Linked DNA regions of Homo sapiens: regions 1, 3, 4 and 5 are each linked to region 2. Evidence: promoter capture Hi-C in 16 types of primary human blood cells and fetal thymus (Javierre and others, 2016). All regions are on one chromosome and are shown on one strand. Each heading gives the region's core, a stretch centred on a gene start or on the middle of the fragment in contact. The rest is flanking DNA. Distances are from core to core; before and after follow the strand shown.

Evidence for each region. Contacts are between HindIII fragments. The CHiCAGO score rates a contact against its expected background, and 5 or more counts as called.
Region 1: a fragment that was not itself captured here is called in contact with the fragment with the promoter of CHN1 in region 2 in 1 of 17 cell types (activated CD4 T cells); the score reaches 7.3 in activated CD4 T cells.
Region 3: a contact is called between a fragment that was not itself captured here and the fragment with the promoter of CHN1 in region 2, in 1 of 17 cell types (naive CD4 T cells). The highest score is 5.4, in naive CD4 T cells.
Region 4: a contact is called between a fragment that was not itself captured here and the fragment with the promoter of CHN1 in region 2, in 1 of 17 cell types (total CD4 T cells). The highest score is 5.7, in total CD4 T cells.
Region 5: a contact is called between a fragment that was not itself captured here and the fragment with the promoter of CHN1 in region 2, in 2 of 17 cell types (total CD4 T cells and naive CD8 T cells). The highest score is 5.9, in total CD4 T cells.

The regions. Positions count from the first base shown.
Region 1 is chr2:174,472,637-174,475,336 of GRCh38, forward strand. GPR155 (G protein-coupled receptor 155) reads right to left here. Exons shown (of 16, transcript NM_152529.7): 3 at 329-728. Among named protein-coding and RNA genes, the nearest start is that of GPR155, 13 kb to the right of the region's middle. The HindIII fragment of the contact is 1,145 bases long and covers 721-1,865 here.
Region 2 is chr2:175,004,113-175,006,812 of GRCh38, forward strand. It overlaps CHN1 (chimerin 1), which reads right to left and starts at 1,269. Exons shown (of 13, transcript NM_001822.7): 1 at 782-1,269. The coding sequence starts at 800. RefSeq lists an enhancer at 439-985 and a silencer at 970-1,029. The HindIII fragment of the contact is 4,598 bases long and covers 1-2,700 here.
Region 3 is chr2:174,490,921-174,493,620 of GRCh38, forward strand. It overlaps GPR155-DT (GPR155 divergent transcript), which reads left to right. Exons shown (of 3, transcript NR_183819.1): 3 at 1-1,882. Among named protein-coding and RNA genes, the nearest start is that of GPR155-DT, 4.9 kb to the left of the region's middle. The HindIII fragment of the contact is 4,676 bases long and covers 1-2,700 here.
Region 4 is chr2:174,414,001-174,416,700 of GRCh38, forward strand. All of the region lies in intron 5 of SCRN3 (secernin 3), which reads left to right. Among named protein-coding and RNA genes, the nearest start is that of SCRN3, 20 kb to the left of the region's middle. The HindIII fragment of the contact is 410 bases long and covers 1,130-1,539 here.
Region 5 is chr2:174,452,544-174,455,243 of GRCh38, forward strand. GPR155 (G protein-coupled receptor 155) reads right to left here. Exons shown (of 16, transcript NM_152529.7): 11 at 1,194-1,298. Among named protein-coding and RNA genes, the nearest start is that of GPR155, 33 kb to the right of the region's middle. The HindIII fragment of the contact is 1,389 bases long and covers 562-1,950 here.

The sequences.
Region 1 (2,700 bases), core at 43-2,542, 530 kb before region 2:
GATTTGGAAAAGTCAGAAATGCTGCAAAATTTATTTGAAAATACTGTCAAACTGGGACATGAGGAGATACTGAGTAAACTTTATGTAAAAGCTGAAGGGAAACCCATCATCTTTATCCTCTGACAGTAAGATGGAAAGAATAAGCTACTGGGAATAAGGAAATGACTTTCCACAATACACCATCACATTTTCCTTTATCTCACAACTATTCTACAAGGAGGGGTTATTAATATTCAAAGGGGAAAATGGTTGCAGACATACCCCTGATGAATTGGCTAAATACGGCTTTCAAAAAGTACAATTCTCAAGTTAAATAAGTGATGCTTACAGTTTAGCTGTGATGAGAAGAATTAGTACTACAAATGCCGACTTCTTCAGTCTCTTTATTTTTCCCACCATCGTGAGACCAAGATAAAATAGGGCTGATCCAGAAAAAGAATTTCCAAGTCCATCAAGAAAATTTTCGACATATACAGGTACCTTTCGATCAAGAATAAAATTGAAGGCGATGCCAATGAAGACCATAAATACTATTGGGTTCTGTAATACACGCAGGAGTCCGAGTCCCACAATTTTTATTTTATTTTGAGAAGCATTTTGAGTGTCTTTCCACTTTTGGATTTCACAGAAAATAAACCCTATAGGGTTTAACATCATAAGAGATATTGGTGCCACCAAATAAATGTACTGGAGATATTCTGGGTATGTAGTTTGATATAAAGCTTCAACTGCAAAACAAGAATATTGATTTTTAAATGATGACCACAGAAATACAGATATATGTTATGTATATAACATTTTCTGTACTTTATAGCAATGATAAATCTAAAATTTTCAAAATGACCCAAATAGCCTATTTTGGAAAAGTACATTTTAGTAATAAAGCTGAAAAAAGAAAAACATAATAAATATCATATAGCTTATAAAATGATAACCAAGTTTACACATTATTTTTAAACCTCACTAATTTTTACCATCTAAGGGTTAAAATTAGTCTCCAAAAATGAGCAGAATTGTAGAATTTTTAGAAGAAACAATTCAAAGTAAAAATCTAGGGACAAACTAAACATTTAAGTAGTAATAGCAAAAATGTGTTTATTGGTATCCATGGAAAGAACAGTTTTACTGGAGTGGTAAGAGACAGAAGTCAGATCACAGAGGGTTGAGGAGAGAGTAGGAGTTATTTCAGGAACTAAAAAGGAGCACGGATGTGGAATCCAAGCTGTGTAAGAAAAGAAATGAAGATGGGAGATGTTTGGAGGCCTCTAGGAATTAGGGACAGTTGGAAGTGCGGGAGTTCAGAGTAAAACAGCTAATGAGCTACTCAGTTAAATATTTTCCAGATGACAAGGTCCAGGATGTGGCTATGGGACTTAGTGGCTGAAATGGAGTAAAGGAAAACATCACTGGAGAAGAGGAGGTCAAGGAAATGACAGGGCAGAGAATTTCATGGTAGTTCACAAGACAATGACAAAACTTGGGATAAAGGTAAATGAGAGGGAATGCCTAGAATGAGGTCAGCAGGTAACAGCAGAGAGGATCAGTGGTCTAGCCGGAAAGTATGAACCTCAAAGCAGTTTTTAACAGCAGAGCAGAGGGATGGTCTAGCAATGGTCCACAGTAGCTGTGGGGATGCCAGTCCTACCTTCCACTGCTCATGTGGTGTGCTGGCAATGGGAAAATGAACAACCTCCATTTGAGAGGAATGAAAAGGAATGAATGCCTTCAAAGAAGACCAGTGGAGATACTTAAGGAGTAGAGATAGAAAGGTGGATCTTACAATGTTTGGGAGGGAAATACAGTAGAGTCACATCAATGCACATTTAGTTAACACAAATTCAACCATACCCTCTTGGGAAAACAAAAGCTTCATTTCCCCCCACCCCCCATAGCATGTTTCCAAGTGCAAACAAATTATTTCAACTGCTGTTCATTGAAGAACAATGCTAGCTAAAAAAATCTGGCTGTGTTAGACTTATGAAAAATGGTACAATATAGACAAAGTATGTGTGCTGTATTTGGTGGGCATTTTCAAGAGTTTGAATATACAAGATGACTTTAGGACTTAACCACTGCATAAGATGTGTTTTTTTAATCTCATGAGGGAGGTGAGTGAGTGGGATCAGACTTCTAGCAGTTTCCTGGTAGACGTGAGGGTTGGTGACCTAGTCTTTAGTTTATTAGAGCAACTTAGGGCCTTTCAGTAAACAACTGGTCTCTAGCACATTTTTGACAATGGGTCCCGAAATTATACAATCTAATGCAAATAAAGGCTGATTTATAATTGATTTGAAGTTGAGAAAGATAAAAAAGAACAGCCACAGTCGTTCACAAGGAGAGAGGCAAACGTGAAAACATGTAAAAGATTAGGTTTCTCGGCCGGGCGCGGTGGCTCACGCCTGTAATCCCAGCACTTTGGGAGGCCGAGGCGGGCGGATCACGAGGTCAGGAGATCGAGACCATCCCGGCTAAAATGGTGAAACCCCGTCTCTACTAAAAATACAAAAAATTAGCCGGGCGTAGTGGCGGGCGCCTGTAGTCCCAGCTACTTGGGAGGCTGAGGCGGGAGAATGGCGTGAACCCGGGAGGCGGAGCTTGCAGTGAGCCGAGATCCCGCCACTGCACTCCAGCCTGGGCGACAGAGCGAGACTCCGTCTCAAAAAAAAAAAAAAAAAAAAAAAAAAAAAAAATTAGGTTTCT
Region 2 (2,700 bases), core at 19-2,518:
TAAAGTCAGGTACGTATGTACCATAGTCGTTTTGTAAAAGGAAAGAATGTATCTTTTCAGTCCTTTTTCCCAACCCATTGTCATTGCAGACTGAGAAAAAAACAGCTTGAAGTCTTAACCACCAAAAGCAACAGTGCTGCAGTAATTACACCACAAAAATAACATTTCATTCTTAATGAATACTCAGTCTCCTGAGATTACAGTTATCTTCTGGTAACCAACTTTATTCTGTCTGCTCTCATTCGTTAGTGCAAACATTTTCAATTTTAACCCATATTCAGTTCACAAATCATACTTATTTCCAACGGAATATACTGAGTCCAAAAAAAAAATTCCCCAATAGTCCAACAGGAAGCAACACATGCATTTGGCAATTCCAAGGAGGCTGGGGACTCACAGATACCTCGTTCAAAATAAATAAACTTTCCAAGGATTTATTTACCGACGGGAAAGGCAGGTTTGAAAACAACCAGTTAACTTCACTCCCAAGTTGGCATCTTAGAGAATCTTTGTGCGTTTGCAAAACACCCAGGACCTCTGAGCCTCCCAGCCGAGAATTGGCCAGGGGAGCACACGCCCATCGGCCCTGCCGGGAGAGGAAACAATGGGAGAGGCGCGAGGGAGCAAGCCGGCGCCCCGGGCGCCCCAACTCTGCGGCCCCGGCCCGCCCCGACCCCACGCGCCGCGCCCCCTCCCCGGGCGCCCAGGCCCCCCAGGCCCCCGCCCCCGAGCCCCGGGACGCGGCCCACCTGCGGCGGCGCGGGGAGACGGCTGCACTTACCAAACAGGGTCAGGGCCATTGTAAAGGCGCTCGCCGCCGCCCGCGAGTCCAGGCGCTCCTCCCAGGCGGGCTAGGGATCACCTCATCAGCCCGCCGCACCCACACCTCGGAGAGAGTGGGGTGCCCGATGGGGCGTGCTGGGGGCGCCGGCGCCCGGGGAGGCTGCAGGCCGGGACGCGGGGGACCGCTGCAAGAAAAAGTTATTCACGCGTTATTGTCGGGCGCACCGGGCCCAGGGAGCCCCGCTAGCTCTCCGCGAGCCGGCACTTGTCGCTGCCATCAGGCGCGGAGCGTGCGCGCGGGAGGAGGTACCTGCGAGGCAGGAGGCTTGGCCGCGGCGCAGTGGCTGGCGGAGAGGCGGCGCCGCACTGGCGGCGGCGGCGGCGGCGACGGGGAGAGCAGCAGCAGCCTCGCACAGCCCCCGGCGGGGCGCGCTCACTCCGCATCCCGCGGCCTCGCAGACGCCATCTTGCGATAGCGTCTCCCACGAGCTCGGCCGCGCCGCTGCCTCCCGCCTCTCCCTCGGGCTTCCCGGTCGAGTGCGTTCCCATGGCAACGGGCGCGCGCGGGGGTAAGAGGGTGCGCCCTCATTCCCGCGGCTGCGAGGAGCCACCAGCGCCCCCCTGGAGGCGGCCGCCCGGAGCGGGATGGAGCGGGGCCGGTGTGCGTTTTAGCTGAAAGCCCAGGTTTTTTCTTGAATGGAATTTGAGGAGGCGCAGAGAGGAGAAAAACGCTGTTACTCGAAAGAGGAAGAGTCACAGGAGGATGCTGAGTGAACGCAGCGCCCAGGCAGGGTCATCTGGGGACCTGGTGCGTGTGAGAACATATTTCTTCTCCTGGCGCCCTCCAGGCTCACTGTGGCTGGAGCCGGTGACCTGAAGCTGCAGGGCTCTGGTAGGAACAGAGGCACTGAAAGCTGCATTCCTCTCCGTTTGGACTTAGGAGCTGCTAGTAGTTCTGATGAAATTGACACACATTAGGAAAAGGAGTCGCTTAAAAAGCATCTGAGATTACCTAAGATAATTTGTTAAAAGACCAATGCTTACACCTGATTTTCTTCCCTTTACATTATACCTCTTTGATATTGTCTCAAGGAAAAAAAAATCAGCATGTGTCACTGACTGGCACTTATTTGCCACAAAAGATTGTTCCCCTGAGCTTCTTGTATTTATCTGATAATCACTGGCAACGTCCTCCTTTCTGTGATGTTGTCTCCTCACCTCTGTCTCTGCCATGAGGAGCCATACAACGCCTTGAGATTGTCAGCCAAAAGATGTTCTTGAAAAGCTGGGTTATATGTTTTTCGTCGTTGTCGTTTAATGTATTCAAAAAGTCATTCTTCTCTAGTTGCTATATGTGTTCCCTGTTTAAGAAATTCCTTCTTTTTTCTTGTTTCTCTGCTTAGGGATTTGATACTATTTTGGTATCTGATCATGTAGATCTTCTCTTTGGTTCTCCTTTCTTTCTACAGGCGTCTTTCCTCTTAGTTCCTCAGGTTCCCTAGTGTCTTCTCTCCCATTTTCAAATAATTCTTTAAGAATATTATAGAAATATCTTGTATTTAATGTATCTTAGAGATCGAATCCTGATAAAGTGGGAGATTACTACAGTACTTCCAATGGAACCACAGTTAATTCACCATCATTATTTCAAAGCAGACTTAAGCATCAGAAGAAAAGCAGGTTGGAAGGAGGAGCCAAGCCTTTTGTTTCAAGTCAGTTAACTCAGGAAGAAAGAAATATTAAAATGATTCAACATGAATGGGCAAGTGTTTAAGATGCTATATGTTTGGAATTTTGTGATGTAAAATGGCTCTCTTTAGCCACTAATCAAAATACATCTTTAAAATCCCCAGAATTTAAAATCTTTCATGAAAATGGACTCTTGATTTTGAACAACCTTTCTGCTCATAAAAAATT
Region 3 (2,700 bases), core at 42-2,541, 510 kb before region 2:
ATAACTTCTTTAATATTATACCATATATGTATCATTTTATGCAAATATAGATTATTTAAGAAAAATAGGATTATACATATGATTTTCATACACATGATTTTAGTCACTTCTCATTTAGTAATACCTTTTTAATCCATAAACAATTTATTCATATAGATAGATTTATATCATTTTTAATGCCTATTAAATACTCCCTAGCGAAATTTTGAGGATGATCTTCTTCGAAAAAGTGGAAACTGGGCCATCTATAAAGTCTAATCAAAGTTGAGTAAAGCATAGAAAAATAAAAGAGAGTGACTTAAAATGTGCTGTTTGAACATGTCTAGTACGATGCCAGATTTTGTTTAAAAACTTTTAGTTTCTTTAAAACTCCCCTTCCCCTTCCCAATAGCATCATTTTCTCTTTAGGGATTCATGTTTCCAGAGAAGTTGACTTCACTCTCCCTTCAGAGATGATGTAACTAATGTAGGCTGTCCAATCAGTGTATTTCATCCCTTTGCACTTAATGATTAGTCAGGGTAGGCACTGATCCTGAAGTAGCTCAGCTGAATAATTTTCAGGACTTTTGCAGAGAATGCTGATCTTCTCTTTCTTGCTAGACAAGAGGAAGATGCCGACAGCCATTTTAGAACCATAAGAGAAGCCAGTCTTAGAATGGTGCAGAGACCAAGGTAGCCACAGCAGAGAGAAGGAAATAAACAGGGACCTTGATGACATATTGAGTTGTGGGGTCAAGCCCCACCTAAAGCAGCCTCACCGGTTGGCCTGTGGACTCTTCATTGATGTGTACCAATCAGTTTTCTTCATTGTTTAAACAAGTTTGAGTTGGGTTTTCTATTACTTAAAATCAAATGCATAGGAAAAATGCTAAAGGAAAATGCAACAGTAATTATCTCTGAGTGGTAAGAATACACATGATTTAAATTTTTTTTTTCTGTGCAGAAAAGTTTCCCTTTTTCTTGATAAAATTAATATACAAAGTATGTATTTTGGCTATATGAAAATCTTCTAAAACAAATTTTAAAACGATGATCGTTTATTAAACCAGGAATATATATGAAATCCACCCATAAAATAGAATGATTTAAGAGCATGGATATGATGCAGCCTATGACCTTAGAGAAGACAAAGGCCTTGCTTTTGTTGATCTTTGTATTCTCAGCATTTAGAATAGTGCTTTCCCTGACATATGGCAGGCATTCTGTAAATGGTTTTTGAATGATTTAATAAAACATAATTGCCTATCAGCTATCTAGGAAGTTGGATTGTAACTATGGGAAGTATTTGATACAAGCAACTGTGACATAGATCTTTTACAGTAACTGGATTTCTTGTTTCCAGCTTTTCACTTGGCCAAGTTTTATAGCTTTATTTAAATATTCCCCCTGGCTAGACACAGTGGCTCACACCTATAATCCCAGCACTTTGGAAGGCTGAGGTGGACAGATCATGTGAAGCCAGGCTGGCCAACAGGGTGAAACCCTGTCTCCACTAAAAATGCAAAAATTAGCTGGGTGTGATGGCGCGTGCCTGTAATCCCAGCTACTTGAGAGGCTGAGGCAGGCGAATTGCTTGAACCGGGGAGGCGAAGGTTGCAGTGAGCCAAGATCACGCCACTGCACTCCAGTCTGGGCGACAGAGCAAGACTTCATCTCAAATAAATAAATAAATAAATATTCCGCCAAATTGTTGACTCCTTTTTGTGATTGTAAATGCTAGAATTAAATAATTATTTCTGATCTGTCAAGTTAAAACCCTGAGTATTATCTTTTAATATACATATATATGTTTATGTGTGCATAAATATACGATAGCTTTTTTTTTCTTTCGATCTGCTACTGAAATATTCTCACAAAAGCAATAAAGTGGAACCTAAACATCTCACGTGGCTATTGATCTTGTTATTGACCCCAAGAAAGGCTCAAATGTGATTAAATGGGCAGAGGCTTTTGTCTAGGCCAGCACTTAAGAAGTTAAGCAGAGGCCGGGCGCGGTGGCTCACGCCTGTAATCCCAGCACTTTGGGAGGCCAAGGCAGACGGATCACTGAGGTCAGGAGTTCAAGACCAGCCTGGCCAACATGGTAAAACCCTGTCTCTACTAAAAATACAAAAATTAGCCAGGTGCAGTGGAACGCGCCTATAATCCCAGGTACTGGGGAGGCTGAGGCAGGAGAACTGCTTCAACTTGGGACACGGAGGTTGTGGTGAGCCCAGATCATGCCACTGCACTCCAGCTCGGGGGCCACAGAGCAAGACTCTGTCTAAAAAAAAAAAATGTTAAGCAGAAAAACAATGAAACCAGAACTAGCTTATGAAACTGAAAGTTAAATCGATGACTTACGTAAGATAGGCTGCAGAAATCATACAATAGAAGCATGGTAACTTTGGGGGCCGCACCAGTCTGTTTCAAGACTTAGCTTCTTGATACTTGTGGTTTTGTTTTGACCACTTTTTTTTTGAAAGGAGTTAGAGATCAGGAACATGAAGATGAAAAACAAAAAAATACACTTGTTCCTACTTCTGAATTGTTCATTTAAAAGTGGGCTCACTAACAAATTTATTTAATAGGCAGCCTTTAAAGAAATAATATTTTAACTGTGCAGAGCACTTTCTAATTTGAATAATGCCTAAGTTGAAAAACTAAAACTAACCAACATTGTAAAACACAAGCAGGAAGTGGAGAAATCTCAGATTTTAA
Region 4 (2,700 bases), core at 85-2,584, 590 kb before region 2:
CCCTCAAGCTAAAGCCATAACAAAAATAAACTTACCCTATGCTTCATTCTGTCTCCCAACTTTCACCTTTCCTCCAGAATGTTACTTCATTTGTTAATTGTAAAGAGCCTTCAGGTAGTTGTTTTTCTGTATTTTGTCCCAAGTTGATAGTTATCTGCGGGAGGATTGGCCTGATAGGAGCTCACTTAGCCACATTGAAAGTAGAACTCCTTCCCATGCCATTTAATATTCTATGATATTATTTTACTTATAAAAATTAATATATTCACATGATTCAAAATTCTAAAGTACACAAGATTATACAATGAAGTCTCTCTTTCCTACCCTGTCCTGAGATACTTAGTTTTTTTTCCCATATGCAGTTCCTTATGTGTTCTTCCAGAGATGATATATGCTTAATGAAACAAATATGTAATTTTTCTTTTTTTACAGAAATGATAGCATGCTATTTACACTTTTCTCCACATAACTTTAGTTAGCAATATACGATGTAGATCAGTTAGCAATATATGATGTAGATCATTCTGTTTCAATATATACAGAACATTCTCATTTTTTAAAACAGATATGTAGTATCCTATTATTTTGTTATTCCCTTATGGTAGTATTTTAATCATTGTATAATAAAGATTGATTGTATGAATCATACTTTAGCTATCAAATCCCTGTTATTTGGGTTATTTTTAGTTTTTCATTATTGAAATTATATAACATGCTTATAGCTTATTTATATTCATATCCATGACTATTTTCTTTTCTATTTTCTTTTTTTTTTTTTTTTGAGACAGAGTCTTGCTGTGTCCCCCAGGCTGGAATGCAGTGGCACCATCTCAGCTCACTGCAACCTCTGCCTCCTGGATTCCAGCGATTCTCCTGCCTCAGCCTCCCAAGTAGCTGGGATTACAGGTGCCTGCCACCACGCCTGGCTAATTTTTTTATTTTTTGTAGAGATGGGTTTCACCGTGTTGGCCAGGCTGGTCTCTAACTTAACTGACCTCAAATGAGCCGCCCACCTTGGCCTCCCAAAGTGCTGGGATTATAGGCGTGAGCCACTGCACCCAGCCAAGCCACCGCACCCAGCCCCATGACTATTTTCTAAAAATGAGTTTGTAGTAGAATGTCAGGTCAAAGCTTATGTACATTTGAAGGTTTTTGAAACACATTGTTAAATGACCACCAGAAAAGTTACATAAATTTAAATTACTGCCAATAATATTTGAGTACCCATTTTCTAACATGCTTATCAATAGAGGATTTTTTTTCAACCTTTATAAATTTTGTAGGCAAAATGGCATGTAAATATATACACCTACTATGTACCCACAAAGAGAAATAAGAAAAAAAATGGCATGTTACAATTTTAATATTTTTTTTAGTGAAATTAGATATATTCTTACATTTACTGAAAATTTGTAATTGCTTTGTGAGTTGTTTATTAATGTATCCTTTTCCCATTTTCATGTTGGGTTATTACTAACTCTTAAAAAATAACTTCCAATGTATTTTCTCCTTTTGCTTCCAAATAATTCCAGCAAAGTAAGCTTTATTTAGATTACTGAGTGGCAGATAATTGCTAAAAGGGTCATGCTACTAATAAAAATGTGATTAATATACCCTCCTTCACTTGAAGGATAAAATGTTTGTATTAAAAAAATTTTTTTTGAGACAATGTCTCGATCCAATACTCAGGCTGGAGTGCAGTGGCGTAATCTCAGCTCACTGCAACCTCTGCCTCCTGGGTTCAAGCTATTCTCGTGCCTCAACCTCCCAAATAGCTGGGATTCCAGGTGTGCACTACCATGCTAGGCTAATTTTTGTATTTTTTGTAGAGCTAGGGTTTCACCATGTTGTTCAGGGTGGTGTCGAATTCCTGGGCTCAAACCATCTGCCCACCTTGGCCTATCAAAGTGCTGAGATTACAGGTGCGAGCCATTGTGCCTGGCTGGTAAATGGTTCTATAAAGCGGTCAGAAAGCAACTACTCTGAGATGGATCAGTGATTGATATTTGCTTCTCATGTATTCATTAAACAAATTATATGGTAGTTATTATGAGGGTGTGGCCAAAACATTAAGGAATTGATTACAACAGTACAGGATGGCTTGGTCTGGGGTCCAGGGCCACCAAGCAAGGTTATGGAGATCATGCCCTGCACAAGGGGGTAAGTAGGGCTGAAATCCAGCCCCACTATCTGCCCCAAAGAAGAGGCTCCTTTCTCTAATTTTCTTAAAGGTTAGCTAGCCCAGAAATAGCAGTGGTGGCATGGAGTTGGAGCAAAGTGGACAGATTTGGCATATACTTTGGTGGCAGAATGGACAGGACTTAATTAATTAGAGTGAAGGTTAGAGAGAGAAAGATGTCATAAATGAATACCAGGTTTCTGCTGGGAACCAGTGAACAGTTGGAAATGCCATTTGTAGAGATAGGATAGATGGAAGATTTGAGGGTAAAGAGTGTAGTTTTCCATTTTAGAAGAATCAACTACTCTGAGATAATAACCTAACCATCCCAGAGGGATGATTTGCATCTTCCTTTGTCTGAGAGGACAACTCATCCTCTTCCCTTCCTGGGTTTAGAACTTCACCCAAAAGGTGTTGGTGATTGAGGGTGGAGCATAGGGTAGGAGTAGTCTTAGGAGGTGGGCACTCCTATCTACTTGAAAGTCAAGATATTAACTCAGACCTGTAGCAAAAATAGAGTG
Region 5 (2,700 bases), core at 6-2,505, 550 kb before region 2:
CAACGAAAAATGCACTGCAATTCCACATAAGTATGTTCGGTTGTTTTGAATAATTTGAAATTTAGGCCACAAATGTAATTCAGCCTCTTAGTCAAAAGGTTATTACTTTTTTTTTCCCCCTAGATGGAGTCTTGCTCTGTCACCTAGGTTGCAGTGCAGTGGCGTGATCTTGGCTCACTGCAACCTCCGCCTCCTGTGTTCAAGCAATTCTCCTGCCTCAGCCTCCCAAGTAGCTGGGATTACAGTTGGGTGGGATTACCACCACACCCAACTAATTTTTGTATTTTCAGTAGAGACGGGGTTTCACCATGTTGGCCAGGCTGGTCTCGAACTCCTGACCTTGTGATCCACCCGCCTCGGCCTCCCAAAGTGCTGGGATTACAGGCGTGAGCCACCTTGTCTGGCCAAGAGGTTATTACTTTTAAAGGTGTTTGTTCCTTATTTTATAAGAATGGCCATATTTAAAGCATAAAGATTCAAAATATAATTAAGAACTAATTAATTAGTCCTGGTCCTAGGGGATGAGAATGGGGGAAAAGTCTGTTTCTAAAACAAGAAAAAAGCTTCCCTCTCTCCACCTCCCACCAAAATGCCCTTTAGGGCAAACTTCCTGGATTTGTCACTTGGGTTAAATTTATTGGAAAATGTGTGTATGACACTACCTATTATCACTTTGTGAGAACTTTATTTTTTAAAGTGAGTATTCTGTCTATGCACAATTATTCCCTATTAGCACTTCTTTGCTCTTAATTGAGGATCTATATTCTTGATGTTTGTAACTTCTATAGATATTCTATGTAGAGTTCTTTTGAGGGATAAGAATAAGGAATCTTCTGGCCGGGTGTGGTAGCTCACGCCTGTAATCCCAGCACTTTGGGAGGCCGAGGCAGGCAGATCACGAGGTCAGGAGATCGAGACCATCCTGGCTAACACAGTGAAACTCCGTCTCTACTAAAAATACAAAAAATTAGCTGGGCATGGTGGTGGGCGCCTGTAGTCCCAGCTACTCAGGAGGCTGAGGCAGGAGAATGGCGTGAACCTGGGAGGCACAGCTTGCAGTGAGCCAAGATAGCGCCACTGCACTCCAGCCTGGGTGACAGAGCAAGACTCCGTCTCAAAAAAAAGAAAAAAAAAAAAAAGAATAAGGAATCTTCTGTCCCTTAATCCCATCCTCATAGTCCAGAGGCACTTACTTTTCTCAAACGAAGGAATCACAGGCTCACTGGTGCTTGTGTTTGCTATTGGCTCTATTGATGGGCAGTGTAATTCACCATTTCCCATGGAGCAGGAGCAGCAACCTATATCAATCAAATAGTATGTGAGAGTAGAGCCCAACCACAACAGAAATGGACAATTTTAAGAAATGCCAAAGAAAACAAAACAAAATCCACTCACACACACTTCCCATGTAGCCTCAATAGTTTTCACATGGTATCTATCCAAAAGTATTCAAATGTTCTCACTCATATACAAAATAAAAAAAACTTAATCTCATAGAAGCACTGAATGTGGCCAGGCATGGTAGCTTACACCTGTTGCTTCAGGAGGCTGAGGTGGCAGGATCACTTAAGGCTAGGATTTTGTTTTGTTTTGTTCTGTTTTTTTGTTTTTTGAGGTGGAGTCTCACTCTGTTGCCCAGGCTGGAGTGCAGTGGCGCAATCTCGGCTCACTGCAACCTCCGCCTCCTGGGTTCAAGCGATTGTCCCGCCTCAGCTTCCGAGTAGCTGGGATTACAGGCACCTGCCACCAGGCCCAGCTAATTTTTGAATTTTTAGTAGAGACAGGGTTTCACCATGCTGGCCAGGCTGGTCTAGAACTCCCGACCTCAGGCGATCTGCCCGCCTCGGCCTCCCAAAGTGCTGGGATTACAAGTGTGAGCCACCATGCCCAGCCGAGGCTAGGAACCTAAGATCAGCCTGGGTAATACAGCAAGACTCTGTCTTTACAAAAAGCTTTTTAAAAAATAGCTGGGCATGCTGGCATATGGCTATAGTACAGCTTCTTGGGAGGATGAGGTGGGAGGACTGCTTGAGTCCAGGAGTTTGAGATTACAGGGAGCAGTCACGCTCCAGCCTGGGGAAAGAAGGAAGGAAGGAAGGAAGGAGGGAGGGAAGAAGGGAAGGAGGGAAGGAGGGAGGGAGGGAAGGAAGGGAAAGGAAGGAAAGGAAAGGAAGGGAAGAAAGGGAAGGGAAGGAAGGAAAAGGAAGGAAGGGAGAGGAAGGAAGGGAAAGGAAGGAAAGGGAAGGAAAGGGAAGGAAGGGAAGGGAAGGAAGGGAAAGGAAGGAAAAGAAAGGAAGGAAAAGGAAGGAAGGGAAGGAAGGGAAAGGAAGGAAGAGAAGGAAGGGAAAGGAAGGAAGGATGAGTAGTGGGTACCGGATACTTGGGCAGGTAGGGGGTGGCAGGGATGGGGTCAACAGGTACAAAGTTACATTAGAATAAGTTCTAGTGCCCTATCATACAGTATGGTGGCTATAGTCAACAAAGATACTGTACATCTCAAAATAGAAGAGAGGATTTTGTATGTTCCTACAACAAAGAAATTATACATTTTGAAGTGATAGATATGCTAATTACCCTGATTTGATCATTACACAATGATCTCCAGCCTGGGCAACAGAGCGAGACTCCATCTCAAAAAAATAAAAATAAAAATAACAACAACAACAACAACAAAAACACAAACAAATGACCAAACAGAGA